Linked DNA regions of Homo sapiens: region 1 is linked to region 2. The links are contacts of gene promoters, found by promoter capture Hi-C in blood cells and fetal thymus (Javierre and others, 2016). All regions are on one chromosome and are shown on one strand. The core of a region is centred on a gene start or on the middle of the fragment in contact, and the rest is flanking DNA. Distances in the headings are between cores, read along the strand shown.

What was found. Contacts are between HindIII fragments. The CHiCAGO score rates a contact against its expected background, and 5 or more counts as called.
Region 1: the fragment with the promoter of RNF180 here is called in contact with the fragment with the promoter of HTR1A in region 2 in 2 of 17 cell types (naive CD8 T cells and non-activated CD4 T cells); the score reaches 6.1 in naive CD8 T cells.

The regions. Positions count from the first base shown.
Region 1 is chr5:64,162,525-64,167,573 of GRCh38, reverse strand. RNF180 (ring finger protein 180) reads right to left here and starts at 1,731. Exons shown (of 8, transcript NM_001113561.2): 1 at 1,621-1,731. The HindIII fragment of the contact is 6,760 bases long and covers 1-5,049 here.
Region 2 is chr5:63,958,795-63,963,873 of GRCh38, reverse strand. HTR1A (5-hydroxytryptamine receptor 1A) reads left to right here and starts at 1,429. Exons shown (of 1, transcript NM_000524.4): 1 at 1,429-5,079. The coding sequence starts at 2,155. The coding sequence ends at 3,423. RefSeq lists an enhancer at 1,715-2,692 and a silencer at 3,331-3,552. The HindIII fragment of the contact is 6,748 bases long and covers 1-5,079 here.

The sequences.
Region 1 (5,049 bases), core at 482-2,981, 200 kb before region 2:
AAAGAGGCTGGTGTCGGTCCTCAGACACACTCAAAAAAGTGCTAATTAAGTCTATTTTATCAAGAAAGAAATCTTGTTGATTTTTTCAATATTATTTTTTGAATTTTCGAAGAAAAAATCTTCACTTTGAAAAACCAAACACACAAAAAATGAAAGAGAGGAAGAAAAATGGGGTAATAAAATACCATTGACAAAACTAAGAGCAAACCCTAGGGAAACTGGTAAATTGTTGATGGTTCCAGAGAGATAAAGTACAACATAACACGTACACAATTACGAGATAATTTTTCATTACAATAATTAAAATGACTATTCTCCTAAATTTTTGATTCTTTATGAGAAAAAACTTACTCAAATATTCCGGGAAACCTAACAGCTCGCCTCCTCGATTCTACTTATTAAATAAATATTTAGAGTTTCTGCCATTGTCACCAAAGTATCTTTGGGCTGCCAGTGGCACTACATTTATACAAGAGACGAAAGTCTGACAGATAAAAGACAACGGAATTTTACTTCTTTCTACGACTCAAATGATACCACTCATTTGAAACTGAAGTGTTTATGATCTTTCAAGTATCACTTTTAGGGGTACTATAACAGGAGTCTGAAAGGAATTGACTCTATTTTTTAAGAAAGGTTTTAACAATTAATGAGTATATAAAAATACAATGAGCATCAGACCGTCCATCTTTGAGAGCTAAATTTTGTTTGAGACTAAGAGACCAACTGGACCAAGGACAACTCTAGTCAGACAAGTTCTAATCACAGATTCCACAAGGATTGACTGCTTAGTTTTGATATAATCACTTTGCCTCTTGGGTGCCTCAGCTGTCTGGTCTATAAAATGGGATAATAGTAACCCGACCGCATAATGCTCCTTTGAAGTTAACTAATGAATGCTCTCACAGATACACTTACAACTGTTAGATGCTACGAAAATAATGAGCACTATCTCGAAAAAAAACAAGGTGGAATATATGTGTTAGTGTTCATAACAGCACTAGTAATTTCCCACCAAAGGACCATCTCCCCACCTCCGCCCGATGGATTTCAGAGCTTATGACCTCTGCCTAGCAGAAAGTCGTACACTCCGGACCCAAGGCTGCAACAAAAGCGACTGCGACGCCGATACTGAAATGGGCTAGACAAAGGAAAGTGGAACCGTGCAGAGGGAATCGGCCGTGGAAGGGGCTGTGTGGTCCCCACAAGCTCCGAAATTAAACAAGACGCAGTTCCCCACCTCAGACCTGGAGAGGGTTCAGTACTGGACCCCTGGCACCCACCCCACCTTCCCCGGCCTCCTCCGCCACACCTACAGCGCCTCGCCTCCAGGACTCAGCTTTTTCGACCCTGTGTAATTCCAACCTCCAGGTGGGCGCGCCCCGAGGCCGCTCCGAGAGCCTCAGGTGCGAAAGTTAAGCCGCGGCCGCGTCACCTGAGGCCCGCCGGGCGAGAGGCGGCCAGGCCAGCGGCAACCCTAGCCCAGCCCCTTGGCACGTCCCCGCCTGGGCCAACGTGGGGGCCCGGGCCACCGCGGCTGGGTAGGGCCCGGCCGAGGCCAGGTCCCTCCGAGAGGCGCCGCCGCCGCGCCCCGCCCGACTCCGACCCGCCGGCCTTTACCTGTATCCACGTCCCGGAGCCTCCGGCTTCGCGCCCCGTCCCGGCGCTCCCGGCCGCCAGCAGCCAGGCTCTGAGGACTCGCTGCGGCTCCGGCGGCGGCGATGCCGGTTCGGCGAGACGGGAAGCGACAGGAGCCAAACCCCGCGGAAAGCGCTCGAGCTGTGCCTGCAGCCCCGACCCCGCGGCCTCGGACGTGGCGCCCCGGCGCTCGCCCGCCACAGCCAGCGGCCCTGCTCGCCCCACGTCTGCGGGTTCCCACCCGAGCCGCGCGTGGGCGGCGCCGGGCTTTGACCCCGCGCAGGCAGACAAGCGCCGCGGGCCAGACGGAACCGTGGGAAAGTTTTTCTCCCTTGTCATCCCCTTACCAGAGCCACAGAAATTATCCCTGTGGTCTCCCTTGTCCTCACTCGGCCTTTTCTGGAGTTAAGAGATCCAAGCCAACTACTGGGTCTGTTCCCTGCTAAAATCTTAGGCCGGCGTCCCATCCACCCATCCCCATGCCTAGGACTTTTAAGCTGGCAACGCTACCTGGGTTTAGTTTTCCCTTCGTATATCACTATCTTCGTTGCTTACCTTCTTGTGCCTAAAGTTCCACCGATGTGCAAGGAGATTAACCACTAAAGTGCACCTGACACTACTCTTGACAAATTGCAGTTGGGAGGTGAGTTGATGACTGGCGGTAAATCAAAAGTGCTTATTTAGGGAGTGAGGGGGCCGCGTGCAGTAAATGTTGACTTGCAGGTGCCTCATAGATGATCAAACGACTATAAATAAGATTCGGAATATAAAAAGCAAGTTTTATTAGTTGGCTTGAGGAGAGGGAAGGGAGCTAGGAGGGAACCTCAAAAAAAATATACAGCTTTGTTTCTCTGCTAGATACAGAAATTTTTATTTGCCTGAAGTGGCTTACTTGGAAACTTGTCCTAAGATTAGGGCTGTATGCAGTGACTTCCCATCTGGAAATACAAGGAAATAAAGAACAAAATGAAAGACATCACGAGAAAACTACAGACCAATATACCTTATGCATAGTAACATAAAAATCCTCAACAAAATACTAGCAAGCCAAACCCAGCAACATTTTAAAAAATTATACAACATGACCAAGTAGGATTTATCTCAGGAATGCAAGTTTGGTGTGACATACAAAATTAATGTAACACACTACTTTAAATAGACTAAATGTAAAAACCACATGATCATCTCAAAAGATGAAGGAAAAGCAATTGACAAAATCTAACACCCTTTCTTGATATAAACACTTCAACTAGGAATAAAAGGAAACTTCTTCAACCTAATAAAGAGCCTCTGAAAAATCCATAATTAACATCATACTTAATCTTGAAAGAATGAACATTTTCACCTAAAATCAGGAATAAGACAAGGATGTCAATTGTTGCTACTTCTATTCAACATTATAGTGGAGGCACTAGCCAGGGCAGTTAGGCAAGGAAAGGTGGAATATCTAACAGCTAGTAGAACAAAGAGAAGAAAGATAATTACCAAAGAAAACGAGGACAACAGTTCTCAGAGCTAAAGGACAGAAGCACATGAGCTCTCAGTTTAATGGATAAAAATTTTCTATAACCAAGTTGTGAAATTTCAAACCACATGAGTCAGAGAGATCTTAACTTTCATGGAGGAAAAAATAGGAGGTGATTTATGAAGATTTAGAAATCAGAATGGCATTGGATTCTCAACAGAAACATAAATAAAAGATAAATTCTGAGAAAAAAATGATTTCCAATTTTGAAATTGATGAAGTATGAGGTTTAAAAAGACATTTTCAAATATACAAAGGTTTAAATAGTATTTTCATGCATTCTTTCTCAGGAAGCAATTGGAGGATGTATTCTATAACAAAGTGGTTAGACAGAGAATCTGATAGAAAAGAGAAGTGAAGGTGACACCCGCAACAACTGTGGTAGGCAGAATGGCTCCCCCAAAATGTCCACATTCTAATCTCTGGATCCTGCAAAGATGTTACAGTATATAGAAAAGGGACTTTACTGATGTCATAAAAGTGACTGACCCAAATAGGGAGACTATTTCGGATTACCTACGTAGGCCCAGCCTAATCACATGAATCTTTAAAAGCAGAAAACTTTCTCCACCTAGAATCAGAAAGATGAGATGGCAAGAAATGTCAGAGAGCTTTGAAGCCTGAGAGAGACTTGACCTTCCTTTCCGGGAGGGAACCACCCTGGAAACACCCAAGAGGGAGAATGTGGGTAACTTCTAGAGGAAAAGATTGGCCTCCTGGCTGAATTTGCAGTGCTTCCTTTTTAAAGAAATAAACTTTTGGAGGTACAAGATTTATTACAAACAGGACTGAAAGAAGAAAGACAAGATGAAAGTCTTGATGCTTTCTAATTCAGTAATGTAATATAATCTCTTATTTCTGATGAAATCACAGGGATGAACTCAGAGAAATGATAAGGTTGACAAGTTTCACAAATAAAAACACAGGATGCCCAGTTAAAATTGAATTTTGGATAAACAGTGAATTAATTCTTAGTATAAAACACACTAAAAATATTTGGTTACTAAAAGTTAAAATTTAACTGGGTGTCCCATATTTATTGAGCAACCTTAAAAAGTGTAACTTCTGAGCAATGATTCTCAACCTTGGAAGCACATTGGAATAACCTGGAGTGCTTGTGAAAATACCAATGCCCTGTTCTTACTGTGGTACAATTCAATCAGAATTTCTTGATGTGGGATATCAGATGATTCTAAAGAAAAGTCAAGTATGAGAACCCATGACTCTAGAGAGGAATTAATTTGCACAGGTGTGATAAACTAAAAACAACCTCTCCAGTCATTTTACAACCAGAAGTGAAGAAACACTTTTTCCTTTAATAAACATCTTAACAAATATTCATCATCTCAAAGGTACAAACGAAGAGTATGATTTTCAATATTTCAGGAAGATCATTTACATTTTAGTAAAAAGACAGACAAAAACTCAGCTTTATGATTATAAGATACAAAATAAGTACAGATTTATTTTAACTACTAGGTAATTAGTATCTAAATATTAACTAACATTATCTCTCATCACACCGGATATAATGGCTAGCTGAATCTTTAGTCCTCCCAAAGCACCTGTGTCAATAATCTCATTACCTAACGGTTGAATTTTATAACCTCTAGCATAAATTATAATTTCCAACAAGACTGAAATAATAAAAAAATTTAATTTCTTCCTACAAACCCAACATTGTGTGATGCAATTCATGCCATTTGAGGCCCTAGCAGGACATTGGGTGAATTGGAAACAGCAGGAAGTTCAAAATTAGAGGTTTGAGTTAATGCACAGAGGTATGTGAGATTACCAAGAAAAGAGCAGAGAATTATTAGGAAAACCTTAGATTTAGGAGGCAGAGCAGAAGAAAACCTAAAGAAGTTCCTAATAGAAGGACTGGA
Region 2 (5,079 bases), core at 180-2,679:
GTATAAGTGAAATGTTGTGTGGTATGTTTACTGTAGTTGCTTAGAAGTCCCATTCTTTACCAATGCTCAAATGTGATTAAATTTGTTTTTCTTGTTAAAGGAAACAGCTTAGAACAAACCCTTGTAAGTATCTTTATTTTCAGTGATTTAACATTTCCAAATGTTAAATCATTTGGAAAATGCAATACTATTCGTTTCTCCAACAAAAGGTAAATTTATGTCAGTTCCAAAGTTCAGGTTATGACAGCACAAAACCAACACAGGTGAAAGTGTTAGCCTAGCTTTATTAAAATGGCATTCCCAGTTAGAACTTGTGAATGACAGATACTTCAGGCTTTCGAAGGAAGCTAAAACATATAATAGGCCTGATATATAAGGTTCAGAGCAAAAGAGGGCACTAAAATAAATTTTTAAAGAAAATAGGAAGGAGACAAAACTCAATACTACCTTGTCTTTTAATAACTGTCTTCCTCTTTCTAAAAGTTGTTGTATTTCCTCAATACTTGCTTCATTTCTGCATAAGGGTTTCCAGATGGCACTCTAAAACATTTGCCAGAAGGTGGCGACATAAAACCTCATTGCTTAGAACTGTCCCAGGTGCTGAACCCAGTTTCTGAGATTAAGAGAGGCTAGCCGGCTAGCGAACCGGGATTCCACCAAGTTTCCCCCAGAGGTTTGCAGGCTCTGGTAAGAAGTGCAAAAGGCCATGTGAAATGCCAGGCTTCACTTAGAACACATATGCAAAATATTTCCATCCCTGAATTTACTAGCCACAAAGCTATGGGAAGTGGCAGTGTCACTGAAATTACAAGTGTAGTAGTGATGGAAAAGTGTGTGTGTGTTTAGAATATATATCACACTGAGTTTTGTTCTTCATTTCGAGATGCAGTTGTTTACCTCTCCTTGTCCTTTGACACGTCCTTTATAATTTCGTTCTCTCCCGGTTCCCCAACGTTAAAAAAAAAGTCACAGGCAATATTCTCCCTGAGGGAGTAAGGCTGGACTGTTAGATGATAACGGAGGTACCGTTTTGTTGTTGTTGTCGTCGTTGTTCGTTTGTTTTTGGAGACGGAGTCTCGCTCTGTCGCCCAGGCTGGAGTGCAATGGCGCGAGAACGGAGGTAGCTTTTTAAAAAGGAAGACACACTCGGTCTTCTTCCATCAATTAGCAATAATTGGGAGACTGACCCAGGACTGTTCACCTTCCCATTCAGGCTCCCTATGCTTCCTTTTCTCATCTCCTATTGCCACTCTGGGATGCTGACACGATTTAAGAATTTGGCAGATAATATGAGGCAAGGAGTAGTTGGAATTCCCTCCCCCAAGTTTTTCCAACCCCAGTTTTGCTGGGTTGGAGGCGGAGTTTATTTGTTACAACCTTGGTCTGACCGGCAGGGATCTGGTGTGTGTAAGTGAGTTCTGAGTCTCTGTTGACAAAAAGAGACTCGAATGCAAAGACGCTGAGCTAGAGGGAGAGGAGGGCGGGGACCCAGAGGAAAGAGGCACTCCTCGGGGTTGGGGAAGTATTAGGAGGGGAGGGTTAGAGTGGGAGGGAAGGAGCCTGGCTTTCGAAGCGACTCACAGAGGGATAAATAAAGGGAAGTGAGGAGGAAGAGGGAGACTGAAAGGGAAGGCAGGTGGGGAGAAGGGGGACGAAAGAGGCAGAAGAGAGAGAAGAGAGGAGGAGAGAGGGGGAGAGAGGGAAGGAAGGAAATAGGGAGAGGAGGGTCACAGAGTGACCGTGGAGGATGGGGCTTCTCGGTTCTAGATATTTCTGGGATTGGAGACTGTTTGCTAGTGGGGAGACTCCAGCTCCGGCAGCCAGTTCGGGAGCGGCAAAGTAAAATGGACAGCGACAGACAGACGTTCCAGCCACCTCTCCGCCGCCGGGAGATCCTGGAGCTGCTTTCAGGCCAACTCCAGTTTCCCAGCTGGAGCTTCTGAACGCGCTGGACTGCGAGAGCCCAGGGAGCGCCTGAAAGCTGCTCCTCGGAGATACCCTTCGCCGAAGCAGTAAGAACTTCCTGCTTGGGTCTCTGCATTCCCTTCCTCCGAAACTTCCCAGGAGAAGGGCGGAAGACCCCAGGGGAAGGGGCGAGGCGAATCTTCGCGCTGCTTTTTCTTCCCTCCCCCTTCCCGCGCCGGGCGCGCAGGCATGGATGTGCTCAGCCCTGGTCAGGGCAACAACACCACATCACCACCGGCTCCCTTTGAGACCGGCGGCAACACTACTGGTATCTCCGACGTGACCGTCAGCTACCAAGTGATCACCTCTCTGCTGCTGGGCACGCTCATCTTCTGCGCGGTGCTGGGCAATGCGTGCGTGGTGGCTGCCATCGCCTTGGAGCGCTCCCTGCAGAACGTGGCCAATTATCTTATTGGCTCTTTGGCGGTCACCGACCTCATGGTGTCGGTGTTGGTGCTGCCCATGGCCGCGCTGTATCAGGTGCTCAACAAGTGGACACTGGGCCAGGTAACCTGCGACCTGTTCATCGCCCTCGACGTGCTGTGCTGCACCTCATCCATCTTGCACCTGTGCGCCATCGCGCTGGACAGGTACTGGGCCATCACGGACCCCATCGACTACGTGAACAAGAGGACGCCCCGGCGCGCCGCTGCGCTCATCTCGCTCACTTGGCTTATTGGCTTCCTCATCTCTATCCCGCCCATGCTGGGCTGGCGCACCCCGGAAGACCGCTCGGACCCCGACGCATGCACCATTAGCAAGGATCATGGCTACACTATCTATTCCACCTTTGGAGCTTTCTACATCCCGCTGCTGCTCATGCTGGTTCTCTATGGGCGCATATTCCGAGCTGCGCGCTTCCGCATCCGCAAGACGGTCAAAAAGGTGGAGAAGACCGGAGCGGACACCCGCCATGGAGCATCTCCCGCCCCGCAGCCCAAGAAGAGTGTGAATGGAGAGTCGGGGAGCAGGAACTGGAGGCTGGGCGTGGAGAGCAAGGCTGGGGGTGCTCTGTGCGCCAATGGCGCGGTGAGGCAAGGTGACGATGGCGCCGCCCTGGAGGTGATCGAGGTGCACCGAGTGGGCAACTCCAAAGAGCACTTGCCTCTGCCCAGCGAGGCTGGTCCTACCCCTTGTGCCCCCGCCTCTTTCGAGAGGAAAAATGAGCGCAACGCCGAGGCGAAGCGCAAGATGGCCCTGGCCCGAGAGAGGAAGACAGTGAAGACGCTGGGCATCATCATGGGCACCTTCATCCTCTGCTGGCTGCCCTTCTTCATCGTGGCTCTTGTTCTGCCCTTCTGCGAGAGCAGCTGCCACATGCCCACCCTGTTGGGCGCCATAATCAATTGGCTGGGCTACTCCAACTCTCTGCTTAACCCCGTCATTTACGCATACTTCAACAAGGACTTTCAAAACGCGTTTAAGAAGATCATTAAGTGTAAGTTCTGCCGCCAGTGATGACGGAGGAGTAGCCGGCCAGTCGAGGCTACAGGATCCGTCCCATTCACTATGCTTCCCCCAACCCTAGGGAATCAACACTTAAGATAATTCGCCACTTCTCCTCTTTCTCTCTGCTCCGCTCACGGCTTGCAGACCTGGTCCCCTCCCCACTTCCTGCTCCACGGCAGGGCCCTTTGTGCAAAGGAGACCCAGCGGAGGAGCGTTGAGAGCCCAGGAAATTCAGAGAGTTTGTGAGAAGCGACATTGGCTCAGACTTCGCCTGTATCATCAGTTTTGATCCCAGTAATTGCCTCTTCTCTCTTCTATCTCCTAAATCTTTGCGGTGGATGTTTAATGCTTAGTTCAAGGCAGAAAATCCAAAAAATAAATAAACTGTACACACAGCCGCCGCGCCCACTAAGGGGCTCCACCCCATCACCCAACTTCTAGAACTTGGACTTGAGGTTTGGGAATTTGCTCCATCTCTCCCGCCCTGTGGCCCTTGAAATATTCACCTTTTTCTCCCCATTTTTATCTTTTCTTTTTTTCATTGCTTCCCTCTCTGCCCTCGCCCATCCTTATGCACGAATCTGCTGGTCCGGAGAGGCGGAAGAGGCTGCTTTTCCCCGTGCCAGCGGTGCCCCCGGGATTCCCCGTCTTCTCGCAGACTTGAGATTAACTCTCTCGTGCAGTGCACAACCCCTATTTCCTTTGTTTCCTTGGACTCAAAGCAAGTGGCTAGAAGGTATCTTTTAGAGTGGACTTGTAAGTACAAGGCCGGGCCAGTGGGGGAGAGCAAGGAGGAGGAGGGTGTGCAGACCACTTTGTTTATGCTTGCCTTGGTGTCAGCACTCACCAAAGAAACTGACAATCATACAGTGGAGAGAGCGGACGCTGTTTGTACAGGTAGCTGGCGAGTGTGTACGACCTGACATCGCCACTTACTTACTGCGGGAGGCGCCAGCCGGCCGCTGTTTGCGCTCTGGGGAAGCTGAGAGGCCTGGAATCCGCGCGCCTCCCCAGCCATCTGTGCTCTCGCAGCGCGCTAGGCGCTCCCGGCTGCTGACTTACAGGATCTGGGTTCCTCCGCCTACGCTCTGGGGCGCCCTGAAGCGCGGGTAGACACCTGAGGTTTTTGCCTTAGCCAGTGGCGCAAGATGCCGCGGAACTCTTGGGATTGGAGAGACCAAGAAGGCTTTAAAGGGGCGACACGCAGGGGCGGCAAAGAGGAAAGGTTCCCCAGGGCGCGCGTGCCCAAGGCTCCAGCTGGCTCCCCCAGTAAAACCTGAAAGAGCAATTTTATCCTTACGATGTAGAATTTTTCCTCCTAATTCACGCTCTTGTCCTTTTTGGATCGGGGAATAATTCTGTTTAGCGTGTCCCAACACTCGCTGCATTTGCTTTACAGGACATCCAAGACACAAAGTTAGCAGAACTTTGTTTTCCAAATAGGAATTCTGGGCTTTCAATGGAATGCCCAGATAGTCCATAGGTTAGCACTATCTGTGACAACAGGCAGATAGTTTAAATAGCAGGGTCCTAAAGGACTAGTTAGGAGGTGGTCTTCCTGGGGAGGCTGAGTCTTTTATGGGATTAATTGCTCCCTAGCGTGACCATTCTGCTGTACCAAGGGTCTGCGGAAACCACCTTTTTGCCCTTTGAATTGTGCAGCAT